6 separate regions of the Homo sapiens genome follow, and all the other regions are linked to region 2. Evidence: promoter capture Hi-C in 16 types of primary human blood cells and fetal thymus (Javierre and others, 2016). All regions are on one chromosome and are shown on one strand. The core of a region is centred on a gene start or on the middle of the fragment in contact, and the rest is flanking DNA. Distances in the headings are between cores, read along the strand shown.

Evidence for each region. Contacts are between HindIII fragments. The CHiCAGO score rates a contact against its expected background, and 5 or more counts as called.
Region 1: a fragment that was not itself captured here is called in contact with the fragment with the promoter of CXCR3 in region 2 in 6 of 17 cell types (non-activated CD4 T cells, total CD8 T cells, activated CD4 T cells and 3 more); the score reaches 8.8 in non-activated CD4 T cells.
Region 3: a fragment that was not itself captured here is called in contact with the fragment with the promoter of CXCR3 in region 2 in 1 of 17 cell types (activated CD4 T cells); the score reaches 5.4 in activated CD4 T cells.
Region 4: a contact is called between a fragment that was not itself captured here and the fragment with the promoter of CXCR3 in region 2, in 3 of 17 cell types (activated CD4 T cells, M2 macrophages and non-activated CD4 T cells). The highest score is 7.1, in activated CD4 T cells.
Region 5: a fragment that was not itself captured here is called in contact with the fragment with the promoter of CXCR3 in region 2 in 4 of 17 cell types (total CD8 T cells, activated CD4 T cells, non-activated CD4 T cells and 1 more); the score reaches 6.7 in total CD8 T cells.
Region 6: a contact is called between a fragment that was not itself captured here and the fragment with the promoter of CXCR3 in region 2, in 1 of 17 cell types (non-activated CD4 T cells). The highest score is 5.7, in non-activated CD4 T cells.

Annotation. Positions count from the first base shown.
Region 1 is chrX:71,436,343-71,440,989 of GRCh38, forward strand. The region is part of intron 32 of TAF1 (TATA-box binding protein associated factor 1); the gene reads left to right. It also overlaps the pseudogene LOC124905281. Among named protein-coding and RNA genes, the nearest start is that of TAF1, 72 kb to the left of the region's middle. The HindIII fragment of the contact is 3,445 bases long and covers 836-4,280 here.
Region 2 is chrX:71,616,262-71,620,993 of GRCh38, forward strand. CXCR3 (C-X-C motif chemokine receptor 3) reads right to left here and starts at 2,250. Exons shown (of 2, transcript NM_001504.2): 1 at 2,177-2,250; 2 at 1-1,198. The coding sequence starts at 2,188. The coding sequence ends at 104. RefSeq lists an enhancer at 1-249. The HindIII fragment of the contact is 3,713 bases long and covers 1-2,402 here.
Region 3 is chrX:71,477,053-71,481,312 of GRCh38, forward strand. It overlaps a transcript of TAF1 not described here. Among named protein-coding and RNA genes, the nearest start is that of OGT, 54 kb to the right of the region's middle. The HindIII fragment of the contact is 6,178 bases long and covers 1-4,260 here.
Region 4 is chrX:71,383,001-71,387,757 of GRCh38, forward strand. It overlaps TAF1 (TATA-box binding protein associated factor 1), which reads left to right. Exons shown (of 38, transcript NM_004606.5): 12 at 1-164; 13 at 962-1,135; 14 at 1,945-2,049; 15 at 4,261-4,461. Among named protein-coding and RNA genes, the nearest start is that of TAF1, 19 kb to the left of the region's middle. The HindIII fragment of the contact is 3,197 bases long and covers 982-4,178 here.
Region 5 is chrX:71,455,790-71,460,240 of GRCh38, forward strand. It overlaps TAF1 (TATA-box binding protein associated factor 1), which reads left to right. Exons shown (of 38, transcript NM_004606.5): 35 at 2,452-2,577; 36 at 3,763-3,919. Among named protein-coding and RNA genes, the nearest start is that of OGT, 75 kb to the right of the region's middle. The HindIII fragment of the contact is 775 bases long and covers 2,706-3,480 here.
Region 6 is chrX:71,420,774-71,425,057 of GRCh38, forward strand. TAF1 (TATA-box binding protein associated factor 1) reads left to right here. Exons shown (of 38, transcript NM_004606.5): 29 at 536-603; 30 at 2,344-2,466; 31 at 3,201-3,293; 32 at 3,381-3,465. Among named protein-coding and RNA genes, the nearest start is that of TAF1, 57 kb to the left of the region's middle. The HindIII fragment of the contact is 6,757 bases long and covers 1-4,284 here.

The DNA of each region.
Region 1 (4,647 bases), core at 1,308-3,807, 180 kb before region 2:
GTAGCTGGGACTACAGGTGACCGCCACAACGCCCGGCTAATTTTTTATATTTTTAGTAGAGACGGGGTTTCACCATGTTAGCCAGGATGGTCTCTATCTCCTGACCTCGTGATCCGCCTGCCTCGGCCTCCCAAAGTGTTTACAGGCATGAGCCACCGCGCCTGGCCTAATTTTTGTGTTTTTTTGTAGAGATGGGGTTTCACCATGTTGCCCAGGCTGGTCTCGGACTCCTGGGCTCAAATGGTCCACCTGCCTCAGCCTCCTTAAGTGCTGGGATTACAGGCATAAGCCAATGCACCTGGCCAAAATGCTACCTTTATAATATACTAAATTCTTATATATTCTTGAACCTATTTGAGAGCTTTCTATTCTGCTTCATTGATCTATTTGTCTAGTCTGGTGCTATTATCACCAGATAATTGTTTTATCACAAAGGCTTTAAAATTTTAAATTCCTTGACTGTGCTTGCCTAATTATCCTAAATAAACTCTAAGGTCATTTTTGTTAGATTCTACCTTGTCCTCGAATAAATAAACATGATTGAGACCTTATTTAATTTATAGATTAATTTGGAGAAACTGTATATCTTTATAATTCTCCATTTTTCCTCCTGGGAGCTTATGTTTCTTCATTTATTCACATTTTCTTTTATGTCCCCCAATAATGGCTTCTAGTTTTCTTCATACAGTTTCTAGGCATGTTTTGTTTAATTTATTTAATTTGATAGTTTTTGTTGCTTTTGAATTTCTCATTGTCGAGTTTATTCCTAGGTAATTTAAAAGTTTTTATTTTGTTTATTTATTTTTCATTGTCGATATTCAATATAAAATTTAAAAGCTTTGCTGCCATTGTGCTTGTACTCTTTTTTTCCTAACTGGTTATTAAGTCTAAAGGTTTCAATTTGAAGAATATGAATAGATGATTCAGTATTGTTCATAGGTTAAATATAATGCTTAAAGTATTTCCATAATACTAGTTTCTAAGTCTTTGTTATGAGGGTACTACTCTGTAAGTTTGGCCACTCATGAATAATAAGGGTCTTTTTTTTCCATCAGTGATTGGGACCCAAGGTATAAGTATTTCTGACCAGGCTTGGTGGCTCACAACAGTAATCCCAGCACTTTGGGAGGCTGAGGCGGGTGGATCACTTGAGGCCAGGAGTTCAAGACCAGCCTGGCCAACATGGTGAAACCCCATCTCTACTAAAAATACAAAAATTAGCCGGGACTGGTGCTGGTGACATGCACCTGGAGCTGAGATCGTGCCACTGTACCCCAGCCTGGGCGACAGAATGAGACTCTGTCTCCAAAAAAAAAAAAAAGAAAAAGAGAAATATTTCCATATGAAAGTTAAGTCCTTCATGTCATTGAAGAGAAGAAAAACTTCCCCCGATCCTGCTTGGGTCTCTTGCTGCCATCTTGTCTCTTTCTCTTTCCATACAGACTTTTTTATTATGGAAAATATACATAATATAAAAATTTGTCATTTTAACTTTTTTTTTTTTTTTTTTTGAGACGGAGTCTCATTCTGTTTCCTAGGCTGGAGTGCAGTGGCGCGATCTTGGCTTACTGCAACCTCCGCTTCCTGGATTCAAACGTTTCTCCTGCCTCAGCCTCCAGAGTAGCTGGGATTACAGGCGTGCACCACCACGCCCGGGTAATTTTTGTATTTTTAGTAGAGACGGGGTTTCACCAAGTTGGCCAGGTTGGTCTCAAACTCCTGACCTCAGGTGATCCACCTCCCCTCAGCCTTCCAAAGTGCTGGGATTACAGGTATGAGCCATCATGCCCAGCCGTCATTTTAACTATTTTTAAGTGTACAAATCAGTGGCATTAAGTTCAATCACAGTGTAGTGCAACCATTACCACTGTGTATTTCCAGAACTTTCTTATTATTCCAAACAGAAACTCTATACCCCTTACATGGTAACTCCCCTTCTTCCCAGCTCCTGGTAACCTCTATTCTAGTTTCTATCTCTATGAAATTGCCTATTCTAGGTATGTCATATAAGTAAATCATACATTATATACAATATTCTTCCTTTTGTGTCTGGTTTGTTTTACTTACCATGTTTTCAAGGTTCATCCATGTTGTAGCATGTATCAGAGTTTCATTCTTTTTTATGACAGCCAGACTTCTTTTATGAATATGTAACGTCTCTCACTATTTTCTTTGTCTTCCAGTAATGCCTCGCTTAGCTTTAAGCTGGCTTCCACCCTGTCCAGTCTACCAAGTAAACAGGATCACATAATTATCAGATATAGTGGGCACTTTTCTGTCCTTATCTTGACCTCACCCTAGTATTTGACATCATTGACCATTCTTTCCTCACAACAGTATTGTGATTGGCTTCCATGACAATTTTTAGCTCTGGCCGGGGGAGGCCGAGATGGGTGGATCACCTGAGGTCAGGAGTTCGAGAGCAGCCTGGCCAACATGGTGAAACCCCGTCTTCACTAAAAATACAAAAAAATTAGCCAGGCGTGGTGGCACGTGGTATGAGAATGCACTCAGCGTTCTTGGGAGGCTGAGGCAGGAGAATCACTTGAACCTGGGAGGCAGAGGTTGCAGTGAGCCAAGATCATGACACGGCACTTCAGCCTGGGTGACAGAGCAAGACTCCAAAAATAAAAAAGCCCTTATTTTCCTCCCACCTCTTAAACTATTCCTTTTTAATCTCCTTTGCTGAATGTTCTGCCCACTCCTGTAACTTCAGTTGCCACCTCTTTTCCTGATGACTCTATTGTAGACAAAGCCACTTGCCAAACATTTCCTCTTGGATGTCTCAATGGAACTTAAAACATACCTCAAGCTGAATGTATTATTGTTTCCTCCTATCCTTCCTTATTCCAACTTTCTCCCTCTCTCCTTCTTTACTTGAATCACTCATTTACAATTTCCAATCTGGGTTTAATGGGGCATTAACATTACCCAGTAGCTACGTCTAGGAAACTCTTTTTTTTTAATTCTTCACTTTGAATAAGTTCCAACATCCAGTATGTCACTAAAGTTCACATTACATTTTGCCTAGTCGCCTGGTGAATGTCCCAGCCTTTACATTTATCTCCTTCTAACCTATCATCTACATTTCTGTCAGGTAGACCTTTTAAAAAACAAAAAAGCAAAATCTCTTATAAAAAGATCAAATAATCTAGAAATACATAAAATTAAAAGTTAAAGCCTCTGCCTGCCCTCCCACTCCTGTCTCCCATATTTTCATTTCCCCAGAGATAACAGCTTGGTCTATAGTCTTAGGTACTTTTTTCTATGCTTAGACAAAACGTGTTTACTTATTACGCTGCTCTCAGCACACTGCCTATAGGGTAGCCCTGTTCCGCAAGAGCAGTCAAAAAGAAAATTACATGTAGGTTTTCAAGTTTTTGTTTTATTCTGTAATTTGCTCTTTTTTGCTCATGAATGTATTCTGATCCTTTTTATTTTGAGATAATTATAGATTCAGGAAGTTGCAAGAAATGGTACAGAGTCCTGTGGGCTTCTCACTCAGCTTCCTTCAATGGCAATATCTTACATAGCTGTACTTCAGTATCAAAACCAGGAAATTTATATTGGTACATTACTTTTAAATAAATTACAAAACTTAGTTTTCACCATTTTAAAAATCTATTCATTTGTGCATAAGTGTGTGCAATTTCGTGCCATATATATGTTCCTGTAACCACCACCACAATCAAGACTTAGAACTGTTACCATAAAGGAACTCCCTGTTCTTTGTATCTGCACCCCCCACACACACATGCCCACCACCACACCCACCACTGTTCCTGTTCCACTTATCCGTTCTCCATCTCTATAGTTTTGACATTTGAGCATGTTATATAAATGGAATAGTATAATATGTAACCATTTGAGATTGACTTTTTTCGCAAAGCATAATTCCCTTGAGGTCCATCTAAATTGTTGTATCAGTAGTTCATTTTTTAAATTGTTGAGTGTTCCATTGTGTGGTTGTACCAGCGTTTGTTCAAACATTTACTCATTGAAGGACATTCAGATTTTCACTATTTTGCCATTGTGAGTAAAGCTGCTGTGAGCAATCATAGACAGGGTTTTGGATGAGTTTAATTTTTCATTTCTTTGGGATAAATGCCCAAGAATAGAATGGTATATGTTTAGTTTTACAAGACACGGCACTATTTCATTTTTTTTTTTTCCACATCAGATGTGGAAAAAAAATGTACTGGCATTGTAATAAGGCTTGAGGGAGGCACATCTCACACATGAACGTGAAAACCCAATGTCGTCACACTTACGTCATCATAAGCTTATGAACTACAAAAAGATTGTGCCACACTTTTGGAGTGTCTGTACCATTTTACATTCCCACCAGCAATGTATGTGATCCAGTTTCTCTGCAGCATTCACTGTTACCACTTTTTAAAATTTTAGCTGTTCTTCTATTGTGATTTTACTTGGCATTTTTCTTTTTTTAAATTAAAAACATTTTCTTGCTCTCGGTCTTAAAATTATTTCCTCAAATACATTGTGTTTTTCTAATGGCTAATGATGTTGGGCATCTTTTCATGTGCCATCTGTGTCTTCTCCTCCTCCCTTCTTCTTTCTCCTTCTTTCTCCCTTCTTCCTTCTTTCTTCTTCTTCTTGTTATCTTTGCTCACTGCAACCTCCCCT
Region 2 (4,732 bases), core at 1,000-3,499:
GGGAGCGAGGATATTGGGGAGAGCCAGAGCCGGCAGAGGGAGGGAGGAGCCTGGAATGCGGGGAAGTCAGACTGTGGGCGAAAGGGGAGCCCGGATTCCGGCCTCACAAGCCCGAGTAGGAGGCCTCTGAGGTCTCAGACCAGGATGAATCCCGGCGGGAAGACGATGGCTGCCTCTGGAGCCCTCTCTGGTTGGGGCAGCCCAGGCGCAAGAGCAGCATCCACATCCGCTCCCGGAACTTGACCCCTACAAAGGCATAGAGCAGCGGGTTGAGGCAGCAGTGCATGTAGCCCAGGCCTGAGGTGACCGACTTGGCCACGTCTACCCTGCTTTCTCGGCCACAGTTGCGGGCCAAAGCGCCCAGGTCCATGAGGATGTCCACCAGCACCACCAGGTGATAGGGGGTCCAGCAGAGGGCAAAGGCCACCACGACCACCACCACCAGCCGCATGGCCCGCAGGCGCCGCTGGCCCCTGGAAACCAGCAGCACGGCCAGGATGTGGGCATAGCAGTAGGCCATGACCAGCAGGGGCAGCAGAAAGCCAGCCACCAGCTGCAGCACCCGCAGAGCCGTGCGGCCCACCTGTGGGAAGTTGTATTGGCAGTGGGTGGCGTTGAGGCGCTCGTCGTGGTGGGCCGACAGGAAGATGAAGTCTGGGAGGGCGAAAAGCAGGCAGAGCCCCCAGACAGCCAGGCAGGTGAGGGTCACGCGGGCCGGGGGCCCCCGGCGGTAGAGCTGGGTGGCATGAACTATGTTCAGGTAGCGGTCAAAGCTGATGCAGGCCAGCAGGAGGGCTCCTGCGTAGAAGTTGATGTTGAAGAGGGCACCTGCCACTTTGCAGAGGCCAGAGCCAAAGACCCACTGGACGGCAGCGTCCACTGCCCAGAGCGGCAGTGTCAGCACCAGCAGCGTGTCTGCTACAGCTAGGTGGAGCAGGAAGGTGTCGGTGCTGCTCAGGGCTGTCCGCCGGCTCAGCAGCACGGCTGCCACCGCGCCGTTGCCCAGCAGCCCCAGCAGAAAGAGGAGGCTGTAGAGGGCTGGCAGGAAGGCCCGGTCGAAGTTCAGGCTGAAGTCCTGTGGGCAGGGCGGGGAGGTACAGCACGAGTCACTCTCGTTTTCTCCATAGTCATAGGAAGAGCTGAAGTTCTCCAGGAGGGCGGCAACCTCGGCGTCATTTAGCACTTGGTGGTCACTCACCTGTGAGGGCGGGAACGGGGAGGAAGGGGCTGTGTAAAGGCCTGGCAGGAACTCTTTTGTGATTGAGTCTGATTTAGTCTGTGATTTACTCTGAGCAGCTCCTCCTATAACTGTCCCCGCCAGTCTTCCAGGGCCGTACTTCCTCAACTCCATCCGCTCAGCCTGGGCTCTGGGATAGTGACTTCCCTTCTCAAAGGCTGCTTCTCTCGCATTCTTCTGCGTGATCCCATCGGCCCAGGGACCCCTGGGCAGGAAGAAGAGCGTCCCTCCAGTGCCCAGAGCCCTCTCTGCCCACTGTCCTCTCTCTCCCTGCTCTCCCTTCAGGCTTGCCTTGCGTCCTCAGTGCCCCACCCCCAACACATAGTTCAACCACCTTCCTCCCCAGCGCCTCTCCACAATCCCCTTTTCCAGTCACTAACCCTCCTCTTCCCTCCTTGGCCCTTGTCCGGGGACCCCAACTTCCTGCGCCCCCCCCCACCGTGTGGCCTCTCTACAAGTCACCACGCCCCCCAAATGCATGCAGTCTGCCCAGTCCTTCCCCCTCCCTACACTGAGGCTTGCACGGCCATTTAGCTGCCCACAAGGGGATCCCCCACTTAGCTTGAGAAGGAATCTTCTTTATCCCCTCACCCCCAGCACTATGGACCTGCAGGTCTCCCCAGTACCAATTTAGTCCAGCACGCCAAGAGTCAAAGTTCCAAGTCTCCTGAAGGGAGCCTTCGAGTCTACTTGCCCCCCGCCCCCCCCATTTTGCAGACGAGACACCGAAGCCAGAGAGGAGAGGAGAGGCACCCAGGGTCAGTGGCCAAGCTGGGTTCCCAATTCCCCAGTGCTGTTTCTGCCACAACCCATGCGGCCTCCAGCTACTCACCCAACCCTGTGGTGACCCTGGGCTGTGGGCCAGCCCTGGCATTCCCCTGATGCCCCGGGTTTTCCACTTCGAATTCTGGCCTGGCCTGGCTGGGCAGCAGCACTTACCTCAAGGACCATGGCTGGGCTGGTGCTCTGGCTGCTGGGTGGTGTGCTGCCTGCCCCTCTGCTTTGGTGCTTGTGGTTGGAAACCTGCAGTCACAGAGGAAGTGGGAGTTTCAGGCAGTTCTCAGCAGCAGCCTCTTCCAGGGAGTTACCTCTACCAGACCTCCCTAAACCTCAGGCCACAGAGTTTCCGTGACTGGGTGAAACCTCTCTGGAGGAGCTGGCTACAAGCTTGGGACCAGAAAAGCTGGGCAGAGGATGACTGGCTGGGGGCAGGTCCTTTGAGAAGAGAGGTCTGAAGAGGAAGCAATGCAGCTGAGAAGTGAAGGGCAACCCTACTGCCTGCACTGGTAGGGTCAGTGCTCCATAGATTGGAACTCATCTGTCCTGGCCTTGAGTTGATCTTTGCATGATTGTAAAGGCTGGGTAGAGAAATAAGTCTGCAGAGGAGATCCACCTTCTTAAAAATTTCAGCTAGGTGCAGTGGCTCATTCCTGTAATCCCAGCTACTGGGGAGGCTGAGGCAAGAGGATCACTTAAGGCCAAGAGTTTGAGACCAGCCTGGGCAGCATAGCGAGGCTCCATCTCTACCAAAAATAAAAAAAGCCAGCCGGGCATGGTGGCATGTGCCTGTAGTCCTAACTACTTGGAAGCCTGAGACAGGAGGATTGCTTGAGCCCGGGAGTTCAAGTCTGCCTTGAGATATAATTGTACCACTGCACTCCAGCCTGGTGACAGAGTGAGGCCCTGTCTCTTAAAAAGGGAATTAAAATATTTTTTTAAAAAGCCGTTACACTAAATCTAGCTTTTTACCACCACCTCTCCCTGCTAATCAGTGGGGAAAAAGAAAGGGAACTACCAGTAATGAACTTGCTATGTGATAGACATTGCTTTAGGTGCTTTCTCCGACACTGCCTTATTTCAACCACACAACTCACTTGTGACGTGCGGGGTTATCTGCATGGATGATTCAGAAAGGGGACAGGCCTTCGCCAGACACGGCAATTAAAGGTGGGCGTGAGGATTGATCCCACGGCTGTCTGATTCTCCTTTTCCTACTCATGAACACTGTCTTCAGTTTCTTTTAAGTGAATAAGCTATGATATATTCATGCAGTTAAAAACAAATGAACTAAAGCTACACATTTGAACATGGATGCATCTAGAAAAGCCAACGATCACATGGTAGAAGAAGCAAGTTACAGAATGCCATGTATAGTTTGATGCCACTTACATAAACTCTAAAAACCACCACAAAATCAATACCATGTTGTTTTGGATAACACTGTTGGTTCTCGAGGTTTAAAACAGGGACAGGAGATACCACAAATTCATAAAAGCAGTTGCTTCTCGGGCAAGAAGGAGGATGGGGTTGGGGAGGAGGCCATAGGAACTTCTTGATCTTAAGGAAAAGCTGTAAGGCAGCCTTGGTACAGCACATCAGTCACTTTATGGCAGAGAATGGTGAACAATTCCTCTCCCCACCTGCCCTCAGCTCTCCCCTTTGCCCTCTTCTCCCCTCCCTGTCGCCCTCTTCTCATTACCAGTGGGCAAGGCTGCCCGTAATTTGCTTCTCCCAAGCAGTTTCCTCTTTCTCTCTCTCCCCTAGTTGGAAAGCAGGGGTGGAGGGAGAGAGAGAAAGAAGAGAGAAGAGAGAAGAGAGAGAGAGAGAAAAGCAAGTGCTAGCCCATGGTCTTGGGGCCAGTTTTCAGCCAGACTGCCCCACCAAAGCCTCCAGGCTAGGGCCTGGAATTAAATTTACACCCACATGAGGCATACTTGCAAGGCATCAAGGCCCTTCCCCTCCTGTGGACAGATGTGACTCTCCTTGCTCTAAACAGCTTGTCACCTGCAGGGTTCAGGCCAGAGGGAACTGAGGGCCTGGCAGAGGTCAGGAGCAGTGCCAGTGGAGGGAGCAGGAAGGATTCCAGAAACCAGGCCAGTTAGGATGAGCAGGACTTGGCCAGTAGCTACCTATGGGGGTGGAAAAGGGTTGGGAGCTGGGACCACAGTCTCCCAGTGCTGACCTGTGAAGAGGTTTGAGTTCCATGGGCTTCTGCAAATGAGAAAATTGACCATGGAAAGCCACATTTGTTCCATTTAAAGGTCTGTCTTATATTCAGCAATCATGTTATTTGTCCCCTTTTTTTGGTATCAAAAGGGCCTTTTCTTTATGAAATGATGGGGAAAATAGATGGTAGTTTTGGAAACATCTTGTGATGGCAGAAGTTGACAACCCAATGTGGGTCCTCTAAATCAGCAGTCCCCAGCCTTTTTGGCACCAGGGACCGGTTTCGTGGAAGACAATTTTTCCACGGACTGGAGTGGGGATGGTTTCGGGATGAAACTGTTCCACCTCAGATCATCAGGCATTAGATTCTCATAAACAATGCACAACCTAGATCCCTCCCACGTGCAGTTCACAACAGGATTTGTGCTCTGCTGATCTGACAGGAGGCAGAGCTCAGGCAGTAATGCTCCCTCCCCCTGCAGCTTACCTCCTGCTGTCCAGCCTGGTTCCTAACAGGCCACAGACCGGTATACTGGTCCACCACCCATG
Region 3 (4,260 bases), core at 804-3,303, 140 kb before region 2:
CTCAGCCTCCCGAGTAGCTGGGATTACCGGTGCCTGCCACCATGCCTAGCTAATTTTTGTATTTTTAGTACAGATGGGATTTCACCATGTTGGCTAGGCTGGTCTTGAACTCCTGACCTCAAGTGATCTACCTGCCTCAGCCTCCCAAAGTGCTGGGATTACAGGCATGATCCACTGTGCCTGGCCAAAATTTTAGATCTTTTAGGAGAAATAAAAGATAATTTAAAAAATTTTTTTAATTTTAATTTTTTTTTTTGAGACAGAGTCTCACTCTGTCACCCAGGCTGCATTGCAATAGTGCAATCACAGCTCACTGCAGCCTCAACCTTCTGGGCCCAATTGATCCTCCCATCTCAGCCTCCTGAATAGCTGGGTCTACAGGCACATGACACCTGCCTGGCTAATTTTTGTACTTTTTATGGAGACAGGGTCTCACTATGTTGCCTAGGCCAGTCCCAAACTCCTGGCCTCAATCGATGCTCCTACCTCAGCCTTCCAAAGTGCTAAGTGCTGGGATCATAGGTGTGAGTCACTGTGCCCACTAAGAATATTTCTATAGCCTTGGTATACAAAAGGATTTCTTAGACAATAACATAAAGGGCAAATCATAAAATAAAATTTGGATGCATTTAACTGTGTTAAAAAATATAAACTTTTGAAGCCGGGCACGGTGGCATACGCCTGTAATTCCAGCACTTTGGGAGGCCGAGGCAGGTGGATCACTCGAGGTCAGGAGTTCGAGACCAGCCTGACCAACATGGTGAAACCCCATCTCTACTAAAAATACAAAAATTAGCTGGGCATGGTAGCACATACATGTAATCCCAGCTTCTCGGGAGGCTAAGGCAGGAGACTCACTTGAGCGCAGGAGGCAAAGGCTGCAGTGAGCCGAGATCACACCATTGCCCTCCAGCCTGGGTGATAGAGCAAGACTCTGTTTCTAAATAAATAAATAAACTTTTGTTCATCATAAGACATCATTTTAAAAGGTGATGGGCTGGCAGAAGATGTTTCCAATTCATATAACTGATAAAGAATAACTATCCTGGGCCAGGCATGGTGGCTGAGGCCGGCAGATCACCTGAGGTCAGGAGTTCGAGACTAGCCCAGCCAACATGGTGAAACCCTATCTCTACAAAAAATACAAAAAAATTAGCTGGGCGTGGTGGTGGGTGCCTGTAATCCCAGCTACTTGGGAGGCTGAGGCAGGAGAATTGCTTGAATTCGGGAGGTGGAGGTTGCAGTGAGCCAAGATCACGCCACTGCACTCCAGCCTGGGCAACAAGAGTGAACCCCCTTCTCAAAAAAAGAATAACTATCCTGGCCAACTGCGGTGGCTCATGCCTGTAATCTCAATGCTTTGGGGGCCGAGGTAGGAGGATCACTTGAGCCCAGGAGTTCGAGGCTGCAGTGAGCTATGATCATACCACTGCACTCCTCCAGCCTAGGTGATAGAGCAAGACCTTGTCTCAAACAAACAAACAAACAAACAAACAAAAACAAGAGAATCCTGGCCAAGTGCGATGGCTCACACCTGTAATCTCAGCATCCCAGAACTTTGACAGGCAGAGATGGGAGGATTGCTTGAGTCCACGAGTTTGAGACCAGACTGGGTAACATAGGGAGGTCTATCTTTAGCAAAAATTCTTTTTAAATTCTGAAAAAAAATATGTAAGACAATATATCGGTAAGAAAAAGACAAGCCATCCAATGAAAACTGACCAAAAAACATAAAGCAGCATTTCACAGAAGAGAAAACAGGAATAGCCAATAAACGTGAAAATGTTGGCCAGGCTGGTCTTGAACTCCTGACCTCAGGTGATCCGCCCGCCTTGGCCTCCCAAAGTGCTGGGATTACAGGCGTGAGCCACTGCACCTAGCTGACTTAATCAGCAATTCTACCCCTAGGTATATATGCTAGAAAAATTCTTGCACCACCGTACCAGAAGACATGTACAAGAATTCAAGAGTGTTAATAGCTGCACTGATCTTTATAGCAAAAAGTTGAAAATAGCTCAAATGTTCTTCAATAAGAGAATGGTTTAGTAAATTATGGTATTATTATAAAAGGGAAAACTATACATTGGTAAAAATACCTACAGATACAAATATCAACATAGATGAGTCCCACGAACATAATGTGGAAGGAAAGTTCAGAAAAATTCATATGATATGATTCTATGTATATAAGGTTCAAAAACACGGGTGAGAAAGCCATAAAGAAAAGTATAATTACTGGCCAGACATGATGGCTCATGCCTGTAATCCCAGCACTTTGGAAGGCCAAGGCAGGAGGATCACTTGAGGCCAGGAGTTCAAGATCAGCCTGGGCAATATGGCAAAGCCCAATTGCTACTAAAAATACAAAAATTAGCCGGGCGTGGTGGCGCATGCCTGCAGTCCTAGCTACTTGGGAGGCTGAGACAGGAGAATCTCTTGAACCCGGGAGGTGGAGGTTGCAGTGAACTGAGATCACGCCACTCCACTCCAGTCTGGGTGATGGAGTGAGACTCTGTCTCAAAAAATAAATAAACAAAAAGAAAAAAAAGTACAATTCCTAATAGCAGTTATATCTTGCAGGGAAGGAAAGGAATGCAATTCAGAAGGGTATCCAGAGAGCTTCAGAGGCTCTGGTAATGTTCTGGTTTGTAAGCTGATTGGTGGGCACTTAGATGTTCATTTTCTTATTCTTTAAATTATATATGAGATTTTTATCTACCATAAATGTCAGATATACTTTTGTATTTGTGATATATTTCATAAAAGTTTTTAAGCTGAAAAAAAAGTGACTGGAAGGTGAGAAAGCAGCTAGGCTATCAGGGGAAGGAGAATGATAGTAATAGCTAAAGGGAGAAATGGGATAACCAGAAAATTTTTAAAAGACCTATGAGGCCGGCTGTGGTGGCTCATGCCTGTAATCCCAGCACTTTGGGAGGCCCAGGTGGGAGGATCTCTTGAGCCCAGGAATTTTAGACCAGCCTGGGCAACATAGCGAGACCATGTCTCTGTGAAAAATCAAAAAATTATCTGGGCATGGTGGTGTGCACCTGCAGTCCTAGCTACTTGGGAGGCTGATGTGGGAGGATCACTTGAGCCCAGGAGTTTGAGGCTGCAGTGAACCATGACTGTATCACTGCACTCCAGCCTGGGCAACAGACTGAGACTGTCTCAAAAAACAAAACCAAAAACAAAACTAGCCAGACATGGTGGCATATACCTGTAGTCCCAGCTACTCGGGAGGCTGAGGCAAGAGGATCCCTTGAGCCCAGGAGTTTGAGGTTGCAGTGGGCTATGATCGCACCACTGCACCCCACCATGGATCCTGTCTCTTAAAAAAAGAGAAAGACTTATGAGCATGTTTACAGCCTTGATTCATTCAACAAACATTTATTGAATTCCCACTATGTACCCGGTAGTATGCTGGGCCTTGGGGTACAGAGATATATTTATTCAATTATGTAGTTACCCATTCTTCTAAAAGCCAGAAATAATTCATATATTCATTCAATAAATATTTATTAAGTGAATACTACGTACCAAGATTAATCTAAGTGCTGGAAATACAGCATTGAACAAAAGTCCTTTCATGGAGGTGGAGAGAGGCAATAAATATCTGTGAGGTGGTGATAAGTACTATAAAGAACACTAAAGTAATATAATGGTATAAAGAGAATGTGTATGTGTTAAGGAGGAGAGAGTTGCTATTTTAGATAAGGTGATCAGGAAAGGCCTTTCAGAGAAGGTGACATCTGAACAGAGAAATTAATGAAGTGAAGGAATAAATTATGTGGCTATCTGGGGGAAGATCATTCCAGGCAAAGAGAAAACACATGCAAGGGGTACTTAGGAGGCTATTGTAGTAATCTAGGCAGGAGATGATGGTGGCTTGGTTGAGGTTGATAGTAATGGAGATGGTGAAAAGTGTTTAGAGAAGGGACAGGATGGGCTGGGCGCGGTGGCTCACGCCTGTAATCCCAGCATTTTGGGAGGCCGAGGCGGGCGGATCACCTGAGGTCAGGAGTTCAAGACCAGCCTGGCCAACATGGCGAAACCCCATCTCTACTAAAAATACAAAAAGTAGCCAGACGTGGTGGTGCATGCCTGTGATCCCAGCTACTCGGGAGGCTGAGGCAGGAGAATCACTTGAACCCGGGAGGGGGAGGTTGCAGTGAGCCGAGATCGTGCCATTGCACTCCAGCCTGGGCAACAAGAGTGAAACTCCATCTCTCACACACACACATACACACACAAAAAGTAACC
Region 4 (4,757 bases), core at 1,330-3,829, 230 kb before region 2:
CTGCTGTGGAATTACGGCAGCCCTTCTTTCCCACCCACATGGGGCCCATCAAACTCCGGCAGTTCCATCGCCCACCTCTGAAAAAGTACTCATTTGGTGCACTTTCTCAGCCAGGTCCCCACTCAGTCCAACCTTTGCTAAAGCACATCAAAAAAAAGGCCAAGGTATAATTGAATTCTGGTTAGAAAACAGCTATAAAGGATATTGGGGTATAAATTAAGGGAATGTACCAGGTATTAGATTGTATTAGGGAATTGGTTATTTTCTCAGATGTGATAGAATGTTATTTTGGTTATTTAGGAGAATGTCTTTATTGTTAGGTGATGCATGTGAAAATATTTAAAGGTGAGGTGTCAGAATGACTGCATCTTTCAAAAACTGTCCAGCAAAGTCTATAGAAAGATAAAAGTTTAAAAAAATGGCGAAATATAAACAGCGACGTGGGATAATAAGTGTTCATAGTACAGTCGTCCTTCGTTATCTCTGGGAGATTGGTTCTAGGACCTTCTCTGGATACCAAAATCTTTAGATGTTCCAGTTTCTGATAAAATAGCATAATATTTGCACATAACCTATGCACATCCTCTCCTATAGTTTAAATCACCTCTAGATTACTTATAATACCTACTCCAATGTAAATGCTATGTGAATAGTTGTTAACACTGTTATTGGTTAGGGAATAATGACAAGAAAAGTCTGTACCTGTTCAGCACAGATGCACTTGTATTTTCTGAATATTTTCTATCTATGGTTGGTTGAAATCACGGATGCAGAACCCATACATGGATATGGAGGGCCGACTGTACTATTCTTTGAACTTTACAGTATGTTTGAAAATTTTGATTATGAAATTGGAAAATAGGTAAAATGTTTTTGGTGTGTTTGTCTCAGATTGAACAACGTCATTGTGTGTAGTAGTGTCCTGTCAGGAGCTAGATGGTATTTTCTTTGTTCTGGACAGATGAGAGAACAAGAGAGGCAAGCTTCAGGTGGTGGAGAGATGTTTTTTATGCGCACACCTCAGGACCTCACAGGCAAAGATGGTGATCTTATTCTTGCAGAATATAGTGAGGAAAATGGACCCTTAATGATGCAGGTTGGCATGGCAACCAAGATAAAGAACTATTATAAACGGGTGAGTCTCTGCTCAGAAAATTTTTTTCCCATACATAATTCTGCTTATGCTTCCATAAACTTTTATGTACAAACTTTTTGTTATTAACATAGCTGTAGTGAGACAAACTGCAAACTTACATACAAATTTTTTATTATTAACGTAGCTGTAGTTAGAGATCTACTGGTAATCTGTGAACATATACCATAAATTTCTTGGGAGAAAGGAGTGGTACCTTTTTTTGTAGTTATAACATGTTGAGCATCTCAAATCTCAAAATTCGAAATCAAAATCCAAAACTTTTTTTTTTTTTTTGAGACTGAATCTTGCTCTTTTGCCAGGCTGGAGTGCAGTGGCATGATCTCCACTCACTGCAACCTCCACCTCCTGGGTTTGGGCAATTCTTCTGCCTCAGCCTCCTGAGTAGCTGGACTACAGGCGTGTGCCACCACACCCAGCTAATTTTTGTATTTTTAGTAGAGACAGGGTTTCATCATGTTGGCCAGGATGGTCTCGATCTCTTAACCTCGTGATCTGCCCGTCTTGGCCTTCCAAAGTGCTGAGATACAGGTATGAGCCACCATGCCCGGCCAATCCTAAACTTTTTGAGCACTATGATGATACTCAAATGCTCATTGGAGCATTTTGGATTTCCAGATTTGGGATGCCCAACTGGTAAGTATAATGCAACTATTCCAAAATCCGAAACACTTCTGGTCACAAGCATTTTGGATGAGGGATACTCAACCTGTATTAGTAAAGTGCTATGGTCATATTGTGTAGGATTATTGATATATTCTAAATAACTGGGTCTTCTGTGTTCCTTATAGAAACCTGGAAAAGATCCTGGAGCACCAGATTGTAAATATGGGGAAACTGTTTACTGCCATACATCTCCTTTCCTGGGTTCTCTCCATCCTGGCCAATTGCTGCAAGTGAGGAATTCTTTCCTGTTTTTACTGTTAACTAAGGAAATTGATAAATGAGGAACCAGTCAGCTCAGAAAGAACTATTATAATTCTAGTTGATTGAGATGCTTTAATTTTAAGTACAAAGAAAATAAGTATAATCCAAAAATGTTTTAAAGAAATCTTTTTCTTAAAACTGGCTGTGAATTGTGTTATTCTCAGGCTAAATGTAAAATAGGTTTTTAAAAATACACACTGGTAAGCTCAGTAACATCTGGGAAGCATAAGGAAGTCAACCTAGGATGAATTTACTATAAATTTACTATAATTTATGAATATTTAATTTTTGTGTATAAAATTGATAACATTTTGATCACATTAGCTGTGGTTATTGTGAATATTGAACCACACCTGAACTGTGCCATCTACAGTCCCCAGCCATAGTGAAATGCTTTTTTTTTCCCTCCTTTGTTCTAATGGGTGTAAAGAGGCTCTCTTATAACAGCTTTTATATATTCAAGGGGGGAAGTATGATGGTCCACAAATGATGTGGAAAATCTCTAGCACTCTCCCATCTTGTTTTTTTTCTCCATTTCATTTCTCTTGGCAATCTTAACCATTTGTCCTACTCTTATACCTAGTTTATTCTACTGTTGTTGTTGTTTATTCTCCTAAAGCATCTGCAAAGCTCAGTTTTTTTCTTTATCCTTTACATTCATAGTCTATTGCTAACCGGATGTTTAGTATCATCTTTGTATTGTTCTTCTCCTTTCCCTGGAACTTTCTGTTGAGGTTTTCTACCAATTCAGCCTCTTCTTTTGTGGCTACTTTTGTAGTCTCTTAAAGATCTTTTTCTGGCCGAGCGTGGTGGCTCACGCCTGTTAATCCCAGCACTTTGGGAGGCCGAGGTGGGCGAATCACCTGAGGTCAGGAGTTCGAGACCAGTCTGACCAACATGGAGAAACTCTGCCTCTACTCAAAATACAAAATTAGCCGGGCATGGTGGCACATGCCTGTAATCCCAGCTACTCGGGAGGCCGAGGCAGGAGAATCACTTGAACCCGGGAGGTGGAGGTTGCAGTGAGCCGAGATCGCGCCATTGCACTCCAGCCTGGGCAACAAGAGCGAAACTCCATCTCAAAAAAAAAAAAAAAAGATCTTTTTCTGTATTCTTCTGTAATTCTTTTTCTGCCTATATTTCACATGTAGAATTTTCTTTCCACACTCAGTGATGGTCTTCCCTCTTTCTGTCTACTCTTCTGATTTTCGGGGAAGGCTTTCCTTAGACTCAGGCTTCTTGTGACAGTTTATCCCTATCTTGCCTCTACTTAAACTGGCTCAAATGTTTCTGTTCAGCTGTCCTCTGTCCTACTGTCTTGTGTTTTCCTTTTGTTTTTTCCCAGCCTATTCTGTCTAGCACTCTTTCTACCTCATTGGTTGTTTTATGATTTATTTGTTTGGAGATAGGGTCTGGCTCTGTGACCCAGGCTGGAGTGCAGTGGCACGATCTTGGCTCACTGCAACTTCTGCCTCCTGGGCTCAAGCCATCCTCCTACCTCAGCCTCCCAAGTAGATGGGACAATAGGCGCACGCCACCACATCCAGCTAATTATTGTATTTTCTGTAGAGATGGGGTTTTGTCATGTTGCCGAGGCTGGTCTTGAACTCCTGAGGTAAAGTGATCTACCTGCCTCGGCTTCCCAAAGTGCTGAGATTACAGGCATGAGTCACTGTGCCCGGCGTTGTTTTGTTTTTTAATTAGTTTAATAATTTATTCAACAAATGTTGCTCTCACACGTTGTGTGTTGGGCTACACTGGGGTCTAGGGTAGTAGTATAGTACTTGGTACATTATGAAGTGATTTTCATATGTAATCTTCATAGCAGTCCTGTGAGGTATAGGCATTTTTAAGTATCTCTGTTTTGTAGATGAGGAAAACTAAACTTAGACATGTTAAATAGCTTAAATAGACATGTTAAATCATAGAGGTAATGGCAGAGCTAGCATCATCTGAATTCACATCCTGTATTTTCTCCCCTACTGACTCTGAAAGATAGTGGATGAAAAATTGTTTAGTCACATTTGATAATCTATATTTTAATTTATTTGTATTACTGGATAGACCTTAGATGGCGTAATTAAGATGGAGAGCAATAAGCTTGGTATTTCTTTCTCAGCAGTTGACTGAATTTCCTAGGGCTACTCTGTATATAATTTTTGTGTTTTTACTTTTGTTAGGCATTTGAGAACAACCTTTTTCGTGCTCCAATTTATCTTCATAAGATGCCAGAAACTGATTTCTTGATCATTCGGACAAGACAGGGTTACTATATTCGGGAATTAGTGGATATTTTTGTGGTTGGCCAGCAGTGTCCCTTGTTTGAAGTTCCTGGGCCTAACTCCAAAAGGGCCAATACGCATATTCGAGACTTTCTACAGGTAAGAATGGGAGGATAGGGAGGGGATTGGGTTGTATACAGAAAGGGTATGTTGGGGCCGGGCATGGCGGCTCATGGCTGTAATCCCAGCACTTTGGGAGGCCGCGGTGAATGGATCACTTGAGGTCAGGAGTTCGAGACCAGCCTGACCATCATGGTGAAACCCTGTCTCTACTAAAAATACAAAAATTAGCTGGGCGTGGTGGCTCACGCCTGTGATCCCAGCACTTTGGAAGGCCGAGGTGGGCGGATCACCTGAGGTTGGGAGTTTGAGACCAGCCTGACCAACATGGAGAA
Region 5 (4,451 bases), core at 1,843-4,342, 160 kb before region 2:
AATTCCCACAGGAAAATTTTTTTTCATTCTATCCAGGTTTCCCTCTGAACTGATAATGCAACCTATGTGACCTCTGTTGGATTATTGCTGTCTCTATATCTCGTTCATGCACTATCCCTATCTATCTTTTACTCTCTCTTTCATCTCACAACCTAGGTTACTGAGGGGCCAGGTATAAAAGAACCCTCAGATACTTCTTCAAGGTCCAGAACAAGGAAAGGCTCTTGGAGTGTGTGGGCAGATTGGGTCAAGGGGGCTTGGGTGAGTGATGTTGCCCAGGAAGGCCCTATTTGCTAATAGGCCCACAGCTTCCACAAGGTACTTTCTGGTAAGTTAAAGCCTGGGTATTAGCCATCATTCCCCAGGAGAGTCTAGCCATTGAATGGCACATGGTTTGCTCATTTCTAGGACAGCCTAAGCCTAGTCCTTTGGTGAGTCAAAGCCTTAGACCCCAAAGTCACCTTCCTTTCTTCACTACGTCTCCCAGACTACCTCAAATGGCTAAGGACAACCTGTTAGCTATTTCTCTCTTGAGCATTAGCTGTCATTTGGTGCAGTTAGAGGGTTTCCTATGAAGAGTAGGATTAGATAGTACTGCTTCATTATTCCAGTTCACCTTTTCATCATTCCCTTCACTCACAAACAGTTTAAGATAGTAACCAACTCATTATCTCTTAACCTGAGGAAGGTGTACATGAGTGACTGTCCTTACTTTACTTACATTACTACTGTCAAACTCAAATGTTATTAGAGTGTGTTTGCAAAAGTGTAACCTGCCTTAATACAATGTTGGTTGTAAGAAGCATGATAGTAATCATACCTTTCAACTTCTAAATGGTGGTGGTCAATAATGTATTTTCTTTTTTTTTTTTTTTTTTTTTTTTTTTTTTTTTTTTTTTTTTTGAGACCGAGTTTTGCTCTTGTCACCCAGGCTGGAGTGCAATGGCGCAATCTCGGCTCACTGCAACCTTCGCCTCCCGGGTTCAAGTGATTCTCCTGCCTCAGCCTCCCGAGTAGCTGGTTTTACAGGCATGGGCCATTACGCCTGGCTAATTTTGTATTTTTAGTAGAGACAGGGTTTCTCCATGTTGGTCAGGCTGGTCTCGTACTCCCGACCTCAGGCCCACCTCGGCCTCCCAAAGTGCTGGGATTACAGGCGTGAGCCACCGCGCCCGGCCCAATAATGTATTTTCACTCAACTGTTTCCACCTAACTTGGATTGCATCATCTGTTCAGCTTAACACCTTATCTAAAACTGTTGACTTTGCAGTTTTCTGCACTGTGCCGTAGGGTTTTGCAGAAATTTCATCCCCTTATTTTTCCTTTCTTCTGTTCCACATTGATTTACCTGCTCTGTAATGCTTTGAATTTTGTTTTGCCTCTGTTTCTCCAAAACCCTCTTCTGAATCAGTTTTGTTTCCTTTTTTAAAAAACACAATGTAACACATATCTGTTCTATCTGTTGATAAAAGTAACATGTTTGTTAGAGAAAACTGGAAAATAAAAACAAGAAATAAGTTACCTCTTGTAATCACTTCCACCACTCAGAAGCAACATCAGCCAGTGTGAATATTTTTATTTCTTTCATATCTGTAGCGTATGTATTTGTGTTTATAGACACACTTTTAAAATGAAATTGATCAATATGGTTTTGTGTCTTAACTCTTTTCACTTTACATTATTTTGTGAGCACTTTATCTAGTCCTTCTTGCCCTCCTGTCACAGAATAGTCCATTTGCTGAATCCCTGTTCTTTCCAGGGCAGAAAACAGGGAAGGGATCTATAATATATTGAGTACCAGGCATGGGTAAGGAACTTACACATCTCTTAATTCTCACAACAACCCTGTGAGGTAGACATTATCATCCATGTTTTATAGTTGAGTTAATCAAGGCTTAGAGATGTTAAGTAATTTGTTACTCACTAGCAAGTGTTGGGGCCAGGACTCAAACCCAGGACATTTTACTCCAAGGCCTATGATTTTTCACCATGCCATTTTGCTTCGTAGCATCCTCTGATGGGCTCATAAACTATCAAAGCATTCTATGCTCTTGTTGGAATTGAAATTCCTTTATCTCATTTCCTCTGTCTCCAAATCAAGCAATCAAAATAGCACTGATATGAAGCCTTGGGCCTAAAAACCGAAAGACAAGGCTTAGAAAAAAACTAGGTTATTGACCAGAAAGGCTGTTAGGACATAAAATTGTCCCATAGCTTTGGTGCATTTCTGCTTCAGGCTTCTGATTACGTGCATCAGGCACCTGTCTACTAGAATAGGCAACATTTATAAGAGTCCCAAAAACTTGTCTGTAAAGCTGTGTCAAACTATGTTTCTCTTTAACTGAATTGCTCTGCATGATCTTTTTCTCCAGTAAATGCCTTAAAGGGGAGTTATCTGTATTTATTTTCCCTTTCCTAGATAGAAGCTAAGTTGTATGTTTTGTGCCACAGCCTCCTGATTTGTATGATACCAACACATCCCTCAGTATGTCTCGAGATGCCTCTGTATTTCAAGATGAGAGCAATATGTCTGTCTTGGATATTCCCAGTGCCACTCCAGAAAAGCAGGTAACACAGGTAGGATGTTCTTTTTCTCTTTATAAGATTGTTATTGTGCCTGCAAGTGGGGCTAGGGGAATGGTGATGGTGATGGTGATATGTGACATATGTCAAGAATGACTGGGCCCTTTGGCCCTGGGAATGAAAGCTTAGAAATGGGATTTCAAGTTGGGATGGCAGCAGGTCGTGTGACTGGTGTTATATTCTCTCTGTCCCCATGGGTAGAGTCAGGCACAGCAGAACTTCAGGGAAGACACAAGTATGAAAAAAGGGTGTGAAGCATCAGAGTAGCCTGACGGGTGACTAGAGCGACCAACTGCACTCAGACAGTTCAAAATAATTGGCCTACTTTATGTGTATTATAATTTAAATTAAAATTATTTATAAAATTAAATTTTAAAAATTGGCCTTTTCTAGAGGTATCAGAAATATCTACAGCTTTTCTACAGCTATTCTCAGTCAGGGTTCCACTGGAAAGTGTAAAACCCAGGAGGGTTTTTCTATCCCAAAGAGTTCAACACAAGCTATAAGGAAAGTTTGGGTTAGAAAGGAAGAGTCTCTTTGTAATAATACAGTAAGAGTAGACTAAGAGCCTTTCCTGTTCTTTGGGTTTTTTACTCCGGCTGTGATTTCCAAAGAATGGGGGAAAATGCGCATGCCTTGAGCTGTCTAAACAGCCCCCACTAGCAGTGGGATTGGCTGGGATATCAGGGAGGAGCATCCACCCTGGGTGAGAGCCCTTGGTTAACTCCTCCTACAGGCACGTCCCTCAATGATGTGCTATTTGTGTTCCTTACTCAGATGCGCCAGGGCCGAGGTAGGCTGGGCGAGGAAGACTCTGATGTAGATATTGAAGGGTATGATGATGAGGAGGAGGATGGGAAACCTAAGACTCCAGCCCCAGTGAGTATGCTTATAGAAAGCTTATGGTTACGTTATGCCCTTATATGATAGGAGCCCCATCAGTACAGGCCAGGCCAAATCCTAAGATGATATCAGGGGGTCTCCTTAGTGAGCCCCAATCTGACTTTAATCCTTGGGACCAACTAAACAGTCTATCCACCAAAAATAATTACTTAACTTCTTGTGAGGCAGCAAGTGGAGGGATGGGCGGGGCGGGGAGGGGGGGTGTGCCTGGTGGTGGCTTCTGGTCTCTTATGTGGTCAGTTGATAGGACTTTGACCCCCAACTGGTCTCATTCAGGAAGGTGAAGATGGAGATGGTGATCTTGCAGATGAAGAGGAAGGAACTGTACAACAGCCTCAAGCCAGTGTCCTGTATGAGGATTTGCTTATGTCTGAAGGAGAAGATGATGAGGAAGATGCTGGGAGTGATGAAGAAGGAGACAATCCTTTCTCTGGTAGGCCTCAACCATTGCTTCTATTCCTTTATAACTCACTACAGCACCCTCAGAACTGGACTGGATAGGCGCTCTTGGCCACATATGCTTTTATTGGAAGCTGCCTCTTTTATTGAATTCCTATTAATAGACCTGAGAGTACTGAGCACTCAGGCGTAGGATGATCATATTCATTAGCAGGAGGTACAAAAGACAACAGTGGAAAAGACAGTGCCTAAGTAACAGCTTTGATCTGGATACTTGTTAAAGGCTGGGCACAGTGGCTCATGCCTGTAATCCCAGCACTTTGGGAAGCCAAGGTAGGAGGAACACTTGAGACCAGGAGTTTGAGACCAGCCTAGGCAACATAGCGAGACCCTGTCTCTACAAAAAGTAAATAAATAAAAATTAGCTGGGTGTGGTGGCGAGTGCTTGTAGTTCTAGTTAGGAGGCTGAGGCAGGAGGATCGCTTGAGCCCAGGACTTCAAGGCTGTAGTGAGCCATGATCATACCATTGCACTACAGCTTAGGCAACATAGTGAGACTCTGTCTC
Region 6 (4,284 bases), core at 90-2,589, 200 kb before region 2:
AGGGCGGCTCCTCTTCAGGCTTGGGCTCCGGCTCGGGGTCCAGCGGCAGCTCCTCAGGCTACAGTTCCTCAGACTCCAGGCCGTTCCCGTAGTCCCCTACGCCCCCCGGGGCCCCCTCCCCGGCCTCCCCACCGGCCCCAGGCACAAGATGGCGCCACCGCCCTGACCCGGAGGCCTGACCGCCTGCAGCCCCAGCCGCCCGCTGCCGCCTGCTCACTCTTTAGGCATTCTTAAAGAAATTATTGCTCCCCTTCCATAGTATTATGTTTGAGGTATTAAAAGCAGCAGTAGTACTACTGTGTGTAGATACACACAAGGAAAGAGTTAAAGTTAGTTTATTCATTCATATTGTGTAACTGCTATGTTTTAGGTGCTGGAAAATGGACATAAGTCTGGTGTATCTGTCTAACCCATCAGTTAGCCTGGTGCCTGACACATTTTAGGTTCTTAAGTAAGTGCATTAAAAGGATAAAGAAGTGTTGGCAGCTTTTGCCTCCCGTTATTAGTGGTTTCATCTCTTTCTGTTCCTCTACAGGGCCAAAACACTCATTGACTCAGATCTCTCAATCCATGCTGGATCTCTGTGATGAAAAACTCAAAGAGGTAAGACAGTTAGAATGAGAGAAAGGCAGTGGAATTTGAAGGTGGGGGTGGGATATCAGGGTTTAGGAAGTAGGGAATTTAACAGAAGGAAAAATATATGCGGGAGTAGCAGATCTTTAGTATATGTGAAGGCTGGAAGGGACTTATAGAACTCATAGGCCAGTCCCTTTTGTAGATGGAAAAACTGGGCCCGTAGAAGAAAAGTATTTGCTCTGGACATCTTGACTATTAACAAAGTTAGAATTAAGATCCAGCACCTACATAACTCATTAGAAAGGGCAAAGGAAAGTGAGTTTCCAGGAAGTCAGCTGTAGCTAAGAGACCAGTCAATGTTTTAGGAAGAATTTTCATTTTTTCTTCATATTTTTAACCAACCAAGCAGCAAGTGCTAGAAGTTTTAATTTTTAAATGATAATCTATCTATATTCCCTCTTCTTACTGAAAACAATTAATGGTACTTTATAAACCTACAAAAGTGTAAGTATGAAGTAGACATTTCACAAAAGAGGACAACTAGCCAGTAAACACGGAAAGATTCTCAACTTGATTGATTATTGAGGAGATGCAAATTTAAACCACGATGTCACTACATACCCACTGCAAAGGCTAAAATTAAAAAGACTGACAATACTAAATGTTGATGAGGATTTGGAGCAATAGGAATACAAACTTTTTCCTACTAGAGTCTAAAATGAATTTATTGGGTTAGGTCCCATTACGCAAAAGTCACTAATCAGTAATAATGTTTAGTGTTTCCAGCAGTAGTTTTACAGCAAAAACAGAGAGCATGATCTTAAAGCCTAAATTGCTAAAGATGTTTTTTTGTGTGTGTGGGGAGCTATGATGTTGACACTCAGGGAAGTATAAATTTTGGTGAACCAGAAGAATAGAATGTAGAGTACCTAAAGAAGTTGTTGACACATCCTTTTTGACCCTTTTACTGGAATTTTTTTTTTTTTTTTTTGAGACAGGGTCTGGCTCTGTCACCTGGGCTGGAGTGCAGTGGGATGACCTTGGCTCACTGCAACCTCCGCCTCCTGGGTTTAAGTGATTCTTGGCCTCCCGAGTAGCTGGGACCACAGGCGTGTGCCACCACGCCCAGCTAATTTTTTTTTTTTTTTGTATTCTTAGTAGAGATGGGGTTTTGCCATGTTGGCCAGGCTGGTCTCGAGTTCCTGGCCTCATATGATCCACCTGCTCGGCCTCCCAGATTGCTGGGATTACAGGTGTGAGCCACTGTGCCCAGCCTGGAATATCATTTATCTTGACTTTTTGTCATTCCATAGGCAATTCAAAGTTACACTTTCTGGGGCAAGGGTAATAGATAGCTAGCTGAACTTAAATTATCCTTAATTTATTTTTTATTTATTTATTTTTTTTGAGATAGAGCTTCGCTCTGTCCACCCAGGCTGGAGTGCAGTGGTGCAATCTCGGCTTACTGCAAGCTCCACCTCCCAGATTCACGCCATTCTCCTGCCTCAGCCTCCTGAGTAGCTGGGACTATAGGCGCCCGCCACCACGCCCAGCTAGTTTTTTTTTGTATTTTTAGTAGAGACGGGGTTTCACCGTGTTAGCCAGGATGGTCTTGATCTCTTGACCTTGTGATCCGCCCGCCTCAGCCTCCCAAAGTGCTGGGATTACAGGCGTGAGCCACCACGCCCGGCAAATTGTCCTTAACTTTTCTATGGTGATCACACCTTAGGGAAACCTCTGTCTTGGCTTTGCTTTGTTTAATTTCAGAAAGAAGACAAATTAGCTCGCTTAGAGAAAGCTATCAACCCCTTGCTGGATGATGATGACCAAGTGGCGTTTTCTTTCATTCTGGACAACATTGTCACCCAGAAAATGATGGCAGTTCCAGATGTAAGCTGTCTCTGTGCCAAATACTGTGAGGATCGTGCAGGGGAAAGGAAAAATGTTTAGGGTGTACACGTGTGTGTATTTTGGAGAGTCTGAGTGGTGGTGTATGTCAGTTGTGACTGGTATGTGATTTTAAATATTGACCTTTTTGCTATATGGGTACATTATCTTTTTTTTTTAAGAGTACATTATCATTGAAATCAAAGAGGCCAGGAATCTTTGGATGTAGGGAGGTTTTTGCTTCCTGTTGTTGACATTCAGTATATGAATGCTCCTGAATAGCCCTGTAGAGAGAGGATGCTAGCGAATGTGAGGCTTTTGATTTAGAGGTGCTTCTAAGCAAATGATGCTTTGATAATTAGACACCATTGGTTGTCTTTTATTTCATTTTTATATTGTTACAGTGATCCTCCCCAGGAATTCTCAACAGAGTTTCCTTTTGTACTATAGGAATGTGTTCTATATGTGTAATGCTATAAAACTTCTCGTTGGGACTAGGGAATAAGGAATTTTAATTATGACTATACAGCAAGTGTTTTTATCCTATCATGGCATAGAAATCCTTAAAGGAATCTATGAACCCCTTACATTATAAACAGAAGTTTTGTATGATTATGTGTTTTTCTAGGAAAAGAGTCCATAGCTTTTTTTAGGAATATTTGTAACCCAACAAAGGTGGTGAAATTCTCGTATGAAGAGTGGTTTCCATTTAATTTCTTATGCTTTCTATTTACTAGTCTTGGCCATTTCATCACCCAGTTAATAAGAAATTTGTTCCAGATTATTACAAAGTGATTGTCAATCCAATGGATTTAGAGACCATACGTAAGGTGAGTGAGTGATTTGATCTAAATGCCTTTTTGTAATCAAGTGACTGTGTGTGTGTGTATCTGAGTGCCTGATTCTTTTCATCACAGAACATCTCCAAGCACAAGTATCAGAGTCGGGAGAGCTTTCTGGATGATGTAAACCTTATTCTGGCCAACAGTGTTAAGTATAATGGTGGGTATTTCTCATTATTTTCTTTCCATGAATCCGTCCATCTTCTATCCATCTAACATTACTTAGCATTATTAAAAAATTTTTTTTTGAGACAGGATCTTGCTCTCTTACCCAGGCTGGATGCTGTGGTGTGATCATAGTTCACTGAACCAGGCACACGCCACCGTGCCAGGCTCTTTTTTTTTTTTTTTTTTTTTTTTTTGGTAGAGACAGGGTTTTACTATTTTGCCCAGGCTGAGCTCAAGCAATCCTCCCACCTCGGCTTCCCAAAATGCTGGGATTACAGGTGTGAGCCAACACGCCTAACCAGTATTATTAAAATTTATGTGCGTAAAGCAACCTTGAGCAGTGATAGCAGAATCAATTGAGTGACCTAGTCTTTCTATTTATTTATTTATTTTGAGATGGAGTTTCACTCTTGTTGCCCAGGCAGGAGTGCAATGGCACGATCTCGGCTCACTGCAACCTCCACCTCTCCCAGGTTCAAGCAATTTTCTTGCCTCAGCCTCCTGAGTAGCTGGGATTGCAGGTGCCTGCCACCATGCCCAGCTAATTTTTGTATTTTTAGTAGAAACGGGGTTTCACTATGTTGGCCAGGCTGGTCTCGAATTCCTGACCTCAGGTGATCCACCTGCCTCAGCCTCCCAAAGTGCTGGGATTACAGGCGTGAGCCACTGCTCCCAGCCAGTCTTTTTTTTTAAAGCAAGCATATATTTTAGTGTGTATGTTCTATAAAGATTGCTATTAGCCGTTAATGATGAAAAAGTAGTATACGCTTACTTTTGGAATCTTGGAAAGCACAGAAAAATGAGGTGAGCA